Linked DNA regions of Homo sapiens: regions 1 and 3 are each linked to region 2. The links are contacts of gene promoters, found by promoter capture Hi-C in blood cells and fetal thymus (Javierre and others, 2016). All regions are on one chromosome and are shown on one strand. The core of a region is centred on a gene start or on the middle of the fragment in contact, and the rest is flanking DNA. Distances in the headings are between cores, read along the strand shown. Region 1 holds the start of DIABLO (diablo IAP-binding mitochondrial protein). Region 2 holds the start of GCN1 (GCN1 activator of EIF2AK4). Region 3 overlaps KNTC1 (kinetochore associated 1).

What was found. The method cuts DNA at HindIII sites, captures the fragments that hold promoters and counts their contacts. A CHiCAGO score of 5 or more calls a contact.
Region 1: a contact is called between the fragment with the promoter of DIABLO here and the fragment with the promoter of GCN1 in region 2, in 1 of 17 cell types (monocytes). The highest score is 9.2, in monocytes.
Region 3: a fragment that was not itself captured here is called in contact with the fragment with the promoter of GCN1 in region 2 in 1 of 17 cell types (monocytes); the score reaches 5.2 in monocytes.

The regions. Positions count from the first base shown.
Region 1 is chr12:122,224,592-122,227,412 of GRCh38, forward strand. DIABLO (diablo IAP-binding mitochondrial protein) reads right to left here and starts at 1,461. Exons shown (of 6, transcript NM_001371333.1): 1 at 1,374-1,461; 2 at 1-53. The coding sequence starts at 1,423. LOC128125816 reads right to left here and starts at 1,973. Exons shown (of 1, transcript NM_001414998.1): 1 at 1,839-1,973. The coding sequence starts at 1,973. The coding sequence ends at 1,839. It overlaps LOC101593348 (a long non-coding RNA gene), which reads left to right and starts at 1,851. Exons shown (of 1, transcript NR_103497.1): 1 at 1,851-2,821. RefSeq lists enhancers at 1-768, 1,178-1,227, 1,238-1,477, 1,531-1,825, 1,775-2,606 and 1 more and a silencer at 1,768-1,907. The HindIII fragment of the contact is 3,750 bases long and covers 1-2,821 here.
Region 2 is chr12:120,192,981-120,196,070 of GRCh38, forward strand. GCN1 (GCN1 activator of EIF2AK4) reads right to left here and starts at 1,735. Exons shown (of 58, transcript NM_006836.2): 1 at 1,700-1,735. The coding sequence starts at 1,717. RefSeq lists a silencer at 1,443-2,032. The HindIII fragment of the contact is 5,843 bases long and covers 771-3,090 here.
Region 3 is chr12:122,531,183-122,533,994 of GRCh38, forward strand. All of the region lies in intron 2 of KNTC1 (kinetochore associated 1), which reads left to right. Among named protein-coding and RNA genes, the nearest start is that of KNTC1, 5.3 kb to the left of the region's middle. The HindIII fragment of the contact is 4,966 bases long and covers 1-2,812 here.

The DNA.
Region 1 (2,821 bases), core at 211-2,710, 2.0 Mb after region 2:
AACACCGCTTCTTAAAGTTAGCCACAACAGGAACACACAAACACTGTCTGTACCTGGAAGTAGAAGTCAGATTTCATAAGGCACGACCGCCAATCTGTAACAGGCTCTTGGATTTACTTGCAGGGGCTGTAAACTCAAACTCGAGCCAAGCAGGAACCTAAATGAGGATGCAGGACAGCTGAGGGGTTTTGAAATTTTCAACATACACCAAGTTTAAAATGTTGCCTCAGGCAGGGTGTTGGTGGCTCACGCCTGTAATCCTAGCACTTGGAAGGCCAAGGGCAAGGCGGGAGGATCACTTGAGCCCAGGAGTTCACGACCAGCCTGGGCAACATGGCTGGCAACATGACCCCGTGTCTATTAAAAAAAAATAAGTAAATAAAGGCCGAGGCGGGTGGATCACTTGAGGTCAGGAATTCGAAATCTGCCTGACCAACATGGTGAAACCCCATCTCTACTTAAAACACAAAAATTAGCCCGGAGTGGTGGCACGCTCCTGTAATCCCAGCTACTCGGGAGGCTGAGGCAGGAGAATCGCTTGAACCTGGGAGGCAGAGGTTGCAGTGAGCCGAGAGCGCCCCACTGCACTTCAGCCTGGGCAACAGAGCGAGACTGAGTCTCAAACAAAACAAAAAGAAAAAAAAAAATTAGCCGGGCGTGGTGGCGGGCGCCTGCAATCCCAGCTACTCGGGAGGCTGAGGCTGAGAATCGCTTGAAGCCGGGAGGCACAGGTTGCAGTGAGCTGAGATCTCGCCACTGCACTCCAGCCTGGGCGACAGAGGCAGATCTTGTCTCAAAAAAATTAAAATAAAATAAAATGTTGCCTTTAAACTTTTTAGAAACGGATGCCACAATAACCGCTCCTGCAGGCAGAATTTAGCTCTGGACCCCTGGCCTGGGTGCCAGTTGTGTGTGACGGTCCCGCTACAATCGCCCAGGAGCCTGCAGCGCTAGGTAGAGAGCCCTGCGCCAGCTCCCCCGGCCCCTTCTGCCCTCGGGAGGACGTCTTCAGACGCTCGTCTCCCTTCCCGGACTCCCCCCATGCCGTGTCCCTCCTCCTCTCCACGTCTCCTCAGGGACTTCGAGTGGCTGACGAGGGCTGGTCAGGAGGCGGAGCAGCCCCAAGAAGGCAGCCCGGGGTCTCGGGGACTCGTTTCTAGAAGATGGACGAACTGAAAAGGAAGCCGGGCTTGACCCAGGGGGCGGAGGCGGGGCTGTCCTCAGTCCTCCCGACCGGAGCGAGACGCCGCGACCCAGCTGGGCGGACGAGAGATGAGCGCGTAAGGAAGGCGGGCGCCGTGGGCCGGGCCACAGCGCTGTCCGCGTCGGTCCCTCCCTCTGGTCCTGTCCCCTCTACGCGGCCGCAGCGGTACCTGAAGAATGAAGTTACGCTGCGCGACAGCCAACTCTTCAGAGCCGCCATTGTGCAGCGCGCGGACGCCAGACGCACACGCCGGAAGTGACGCAGCTTCGTGAGCGCGGAGCGGGGCACGGCCTCCACCTGAGAGCGCCTCGCCCCATAGCCACGCCCCCACCCAAGGAAGCAGTCGGGATTGGGCAGGCAGGGGGAAAGGGGGCGAGGCTTAGGGCAAAGGCTGTAACGGCCGCGCAAGGCAACCAACCGCCGGAACTTCCGCGCGGGGCGGGGCATATGCAGGGCCTGAGGGCGCGGAGGTGGGTCCGGCGCGGAGCTGAGTCGGGCGCCGTGACGCTGGCGGGTGGGCGGGGACTCAGTTCGGGCCAGGGCTTGAAGGGAATTTCCTGGTGAGTTAGGGAGGCGGGGCCGGGCGGGAGGCGGGGCCGGGCGGGAGGCGGGGCCGGGCGCGGCGACGGCGCTGTCACTTCAGCACCAGGAAGTAAGTGGTCCAGCCGGCCAGCAGCAGCGCCCCGATGAGCACCGTGTAGCTGAGGAGCACGAAGGCGAGCAGCTCCCGCAGCAGCTGCAGCACGTGGACGGTGGACGAGGCCGGCATCGCGCTGCGCGGGAGCCCCAGGACGGTCGGCGGCCTGCCGGGCTGGCGCCGTCCCAGAGGGGCGGACGGGAACACACGAGGTCCTGGCCCTCGAAACAGCAAACGAAGGCCAGGAAGCCCACAGTGCCGACCTCCCCAACAGCCTCCTGGACGCTCGCTTCTCGGTTACACTGGAGAATCCTTCTCAACCCAAACTGCCCTCGTTCTTCGGCTCTGATCCGGGCTGAGGAGGCAGAAGCCCGGCTCTTCCCCGCGCCCCGCAGCTGCATGAGTTTTCCTCCCTGGCCCGCTCCTCCCACCACCTCCTGCATTTTTAATGCTGTGAGTGCCGCTAATGCGCTGGTGGAGTAAACCTTTCTTTTCCCGTCACTCAAGCTGCAGCCCCAGCTGCGGCCCTGGCTGGAAGGGGAAGGGGAGAGAGACCCATTTGGGCAGGAGGAAGGCACAGGCCCAAACCTGCTCTTCTGTGAGTCCCCTGGCCCCAAGGCTTGCCAGCAGCAGAGCTGGAGGATCTTTGCTTTGTGGTCCAGCATGCTTGCCTTCTGGCCAGCTGGGACTGCAGGGTGCCAGGTGGTGGGTGGGCATCAATCCGATCCTGGGCTCACCCCCGCCACCGTGCTCTGTGCATCTGCCCCAGCCCTGCTAACTTCCACCAGAGACGACATCAGACAGTAAGAACCCCACACCAGCTCATCAGACAGTAGGAACCCTACAACACCTCCAATGCTGCTTTGCCCAGCCACTCCCCACAGTGTCAGGCACTGGCTTCCTTCTCTCCCCACCTCACTTACTTGGCAAAGTTTCCACGAATCTTCCACCCTGAAGCTCCGCGGTTCTGTCTGCTCTGG
Region 2 (3,090 bases), core at 485-2,984:
AGTTCAGATCGTGCCATTGCACTCCAGCCTGGGCAACAAGAGAGAAACTCCGTCTCAAAAAATAAAATAAAATAATAAAAAATAATTTCAGGCCAGGTGCGGTGGCTCACGCCTGTAATCCCAGCACTTTGGGAGGCCAAGGCAGAAGGATCACCTGAGGTCAGGAATTCGAGACCAGCCTGGCCAACATGGAGAAACCCCATCTCTACTAAAAATACAAAAATTATAAAATACAGAAATATTCTCCTGCACCACCCAATACGGTAGCCACTGGCTACATGTGGCTAACTGTGCACTGAAATGTGGCTGGTACAAGTGAAGAACTAAATTTTTTTTTTTTTTGAGACAGAGTCCCACTCTTGTTGCTCAGGCTGGAGCGCAGTGGTGCGATCTCAGCTCACTGCAACCTCTGCCTCCCAGGTTCAAGCGATTCTCATGCCTCAGCCTCCTGAGTAGCTGGAATTACAGACATGCCACCATACCCGGTTAATTTTTTGCATTTTTAGTAGAGACGGGGTTTTGCCACGTTGGTCAGACTAGTCTCAAACTCCTGACCTCAACTGATCCACCCGCCTTGGCCTCCCAAAGTGCTGGGATTACAGGGTGAGCCACCACGCCCAGCCAAACAATGAATTTTTTTATTTAATTTAATTTTAACAAACTTAAGCCATGTGGCTGCCATACTGGACATTGCAGCTCTAGAGATTTTTCCCTCAAGTGAGTATCAATGTTAAACATTCAGCATGTATTCCCCTAACCCTCTCATACTAAGCTTTTCTTTCTAGTATTCAGTACAACATAACTTGAACATCAGCCACCTGCATAGGAGTCTCAGTAAATGTCTTTTTGAATGCTTAAGTGGTCATTTTCTGGGCCTACACATAAAAATCAATCCCATCACCCTGGAGACACCAAATCAGCCCAGCTGTCCTTAGACACCTGTTCTTCCCCTGCCTCATGACAATGTCTTTTCACCTTAAAACATAACAACTGGGTGGAGGAAAAGGTTTTCCCAGGTCCTTCCTGAACTACAAGGTACCCATAGGTAACACTCTTCCTGGACAGGACAGTTCTTTTCACTAACCCTGGATCTGATAACAACCAACATATATCAAGCCGTATTTTATCTCACTGAACCTTCACAACAACCTTTTAAGATAAGTATTGTTTTAACTTCATTTTATAGATGAAAAGGCAGACTTGGCGGGGTTAAGTCACTTGTTTGGCATGTCACAGAAATCGACGAGCAGGAACTCAAGCCCAGATCTGTATGAATCCAAAGACTACACTCAAAGTCCCTGCTCATAGTAGGTGCTCAAAGAATATTTGCTGAATACAAAGTTTAAGGAAGACTTGGCGTTGGCCCGGGGCTCACAGCCGGAGGGCTTTGGAGAAAAGAAGTAGAGGCTCGGTAAAGTGAACTTCTGCAACTCTGGGGTCGGGCAAAGGCCCCGCCGAGCTCCAGCTGCTGAAGTCGAGGCGGGAGCCCCGGACTCCTCGAGCCCGCGGTCTGCCTGCGCCGCCCGGGCCGGGCCAAGCCCGCAGCCCTGAGAGTCCAGCCTGAGACGGCCCCGAGACTACGACCTCCACAGCCACCACCTCCAACGCCCCTAAGCCGAGGAGCGAGAGGGGCCCCGCCCGACGGCCACCGTCCGCACCCAGTCCCTGGCCGCGTTGGCCCCGCAGCCGCCCGCCTCACCTGCGTGTCCGCCGCCATCCTGCCGGGGCTGACTCCGGAACCGCTTCCGGAACGCTTCCGGGTCACAGCGTGGCCCACGCGGCAGGGCGAGGCCGGGAGCCAGCGGGGGCAGGGCCCCGGGCTTGGTGCCCCCGGGCAGGACGGCGGCCGCTGCAGCCCGGGCAGCCGGATCACGGGCTTAAAGTTGGCCCGCGCCCGAGCCACAAGGCCTCCTCCCCAGGGCCCGCTCTTCAGCCCCGGGCGCCTCGTGGGAGACTAGCGCTTGTAACGTGGTGAGCCCGCGGTGTAACGCTATGGGCCCGCCTTGCAGCCCCTGACCCACTTCCAGCCCGCAGGGCCAGCCCTACGTGGGCCTTTCCTGAGTGATGACTAAGTTCTTTAGAAAAACAAGTGTTGCTTCCTAGATAGCAGGAACTAAAAACTAGGTAAAAGAGTCGGTGAACTAGTCTTTTGTCCTCAGTTTGTAGTTCAGTTGGCGGATGACTTGTACAGGGTTAGCAAACGTGGCTGGATACGGAGGTCAGGGAAGGTTCAGAACTGAACGAGGCCCCTGCCCTGGGGAAATGCTGGACGCCCCAGGCTGGGAGTTTTGAAGGCCACAGGGCAAGAGGCTACGTGCAGACGTGGCTGCAATTTAGGGAACAGGGTCTCCACAGCTTAGTTGTCAGCCCTGTTAGCAGTGGCTTTCAAACCTTTGACACAGACCTAGTTAGAATGAATATATCATGTTCCAGCAGACAGATCTCTAAGTGAAATACAGGAATCACAACAAAAACACCTATTCTCAGCAGATGCTGCTTTCTCTTTAAATACTGGGGCCAGGCATGGTGGCTCACGCCTGTAATCCCAGCACTTTGGGAGGCTGAGGTGGGTAGATCAACCTGATGTTAGGATTTCCAGACCAGCCTGGTCAACATGACAAAACCTTGTCTCTACTAAAAATACCAAAAAAAAAAAAAAAAAAAAAAAAGGCCGGGTGCGGTGGCTCACCCTTGTATAATTCCAGCGCTTCGGGAGGACAGGGCGGGCAGATCACAAGGTCAGGAGTTCCAGACCAGCCTGGCCAACATAGTGAAACCCCGTCTCTACTAAAAGTACAAAAATTAGCCGAGTGGTGGCACATGCCTGTAGTCCCAGCTACTGGGGAGGCTGAGGTGGGAGAACCGCTTGAACCCGAGAGGCAGAGGTTGCAGTGAGCTGAGACCATACCATTGCACTCCAGTCTGGGTGACAGGACGAGACTGTCTCAACAACAAAAAAATTAGCCCGGTGTGGTGGCAGCCTCCGGTAATTGCAGCTACTTGGGAGGCTGAGGCAGGAGAATCACTTGAACCCAGGAGGCGGAGGTTGCAGTGAGCCAAGTCCAAGCCACTGCACCCCAGTCTCAAATA
Region 3 (2,812 bases), core at 1-2,500, 2.3 Mb after region 2:
TGGGATTTTAAAAAGAAATCATTCTTTATGCAGCTTTAAGCTGGTGTCTGTGGAACTGTGCTGCTTTTTCTTGCTGTGGTGCTATCTCGGCTCGGCTCACTGCAACCTCTGCCTCCTGGGTTCAAAAAATTCTCCTGTCTCAATTTCCCAAGTAGCTGGGATTACAGGTGTGTGCCACCATGCTACTAAAAATTTTCGTATTTTTAGTAGAGATGGGGTTGCCCAGGCTGGTCTTGAACTCCTGGCCTCAAGTGATCCGCCTGCCTTGGCCTCCCAAAGTGCTGGGATTAAAGGCATGAGTCACTGTGCCTGATTTGTACCGCTTTAAATGTACCATGAATCATGTTAAAGGCAGTATAATCCAACAATAAGATAATTAGTATAAGATAAACATTAATTATGAGTAGTACAAATCTCATTGTATTTTTTGTCATTATTTATTAGAGGCAAAAATTTCAAGTGCAGCATTTCTTTTTTTTAAATTTTTTGAATCCTTCGAGACATCTGAAAGCACAGTTTCTATAATGAGGAAATGACGTCTATTTTTTAGTATTTTTGTTCGTTTGTTTGAGATGGAGTCTTGCTCTGTCGCCCAGGCTGGAGTACAGTGGCATGATCTCAGCTCACTGCAAGCTCTGCCTCCCAGGTTCACGCCATTCTCCTGCCTCAGCCTCTCAAGTAGCTGGGACTACAGGCGCCCGCCACTATGCCCAGCTAATTTTTTGTATTTTTAGTAGAGACGGGGTTTCACCATGTTAGCCAGGATGGTCTCGATCTCCTGACCTCGTGATCCGCCCGGCTCGGCCTCCCAAAGTGCTGGGATTACAGGCTTGAGCCACCGCACCCGGCCATTTGTTTTTTTTTTTTTTAAGAGAGACTCTCACTCTGTAGCCCAGGCTGGAGTACAGTGATGTGATATTGACTCATTACAACCTCCCACTCCTGGATTCAAGTGATTCTCCTGCCTCAGCCTCTGGAGTAGCTGGGATTATAGGCGCCTGCCACCACGCCTGGCTAATTTTTCTTTTTTTTTTTTTTTTTTTTTGAGACGAACTCTTGCTCTGTCACCAGGCTGGAGTGCAGTGGCGTGATCTTGGCTCATTGCAACCTCCGCCTCCTGGGTTCAAGCGATTCTTCTGCCTCACCCTCCCGAGTAACTGGGAATACAGACACGAGCCACCACACCCAGCTAATTTTTGTGTTTTTAGTAGAGATGAGGCTTCACCATGTTGAGCAGGATGGTCTCGATCTCTTGACCTTGTGATCCACCCACCTCGGCCTCCCAAAGTTCTGGGATTACAGGTGTGAATCACTGTGCCCGGGCTTTATTTTTTAATATTATCAGGAGCCTTAAAACGTGGAAGTGGCTCAGGCCTTTCTTGACCTCAAGGTTGCTGTTGAAAAATAATAGTGCATGTGTATAGAATCTTGGATTCTGGTAGGAACTAAAATTCTATCTATTATTAGCACGTGGCATACACTTACCAACATGTTTTGAACATCTGCTATGTTCTGAGCCCAATATTAGGAACTTGGACATAAGATGGCATCTTATTCATTCCTTTTAGGATCTTACCTTAAAGTTAGGCACACAGGACACAAACAATAAAAGATGCTTAGCTGTGCAAGTCAGTATATGCTAAATGCCAAATGAACAGTACAGACAGTAAATGAGTAGGAATTCAGTGGCTGGAGAGCTCATTGTCGGTTGGGCAGTTTAAGGAGCATTTCCTTAAGAAACTATGTGTGAGCCCGGTGTGGTGGCATGTCCTGTAGTCCCAGCTACTCAGGCTGAGGCAGGAGAATGGCGTGAGCCCAGGAGTTTGAGGCCAGCCTGGGCAACATAGGGAGACAACATCTCTAAAAAAAATAAAAATTAAAATAAACTACACTTGCTTTGGGCCTTAAGAAGGAGAACAGTCTAGAGAGAAGAGTCTAGAGAGAACAGTGTGGACAGATCCCTAGAAGATATAGTGCCGTTCCTTTTCTTTTTTTTTTTTTTGAGGCAGAGTCTTGCTCTGTTGCCCAGGCTGGAGTGCAGTGGTGTGATCTTGGCTCACTGCAACCTCTGCCTCTCGGGTTCAAGTGATTCTCGTGCCTCAGCCTCCCCAGTAGCTGGGATTACATGCGTCCGCCACCACGCCCGGCTAATTTTAGTGCCATTCCTTGTTGGCAGTGCCTTCATGTAACCTTTTACTAGTTGAAGAAGCAAGTAAAAAGATAAGAAGGAGGCTGGGCGCAGTGCCTCACATTTGTATTCCCGGCACTTTGGGTGGTTGGGATGGAAGGATCGTTTGAGTCCAGGAGTTCTAGACCAGCCTGGCCAACACAGTGAAAACCCCGTCTCTATAAAAGAAAAAGAAAATTAGCCAGGTGTGATGGTGTGCATGTGTAGTCCCAGCTACTTGGGTTGGGGAGGCACGAAGATCCCTTGAGCCCAGGTGTTTAAGGCTGCAGTGAGTTATGATGGCATCACTGCATTCCAACCTGAGCGACAGAGGGAGACCCTGTCTCAAAATAAAGAAAAAAATAAGGTAGAAGAGGGATCAGAATGTTGGGGAATTTTCAAGGATTACACCTGGAGAAGATGACTTTTGAAATAGTCATAAAATGAGGTGATTAGCTGTATTTTGTCAGGGAAGAATAGGACTGGTTAACATTTATTGAGCATATACTATGTGCAGGGCTCTCTCATAAGCCCTTTACGTGAATTCGTTTAATCTTTATTCAGGTGAACCTTGTAGGTATTATTATTGTTACTCTTTTACATGGAGTTAGTTGATGCATTTGCCTAAGATCACTTAGCTAGTAA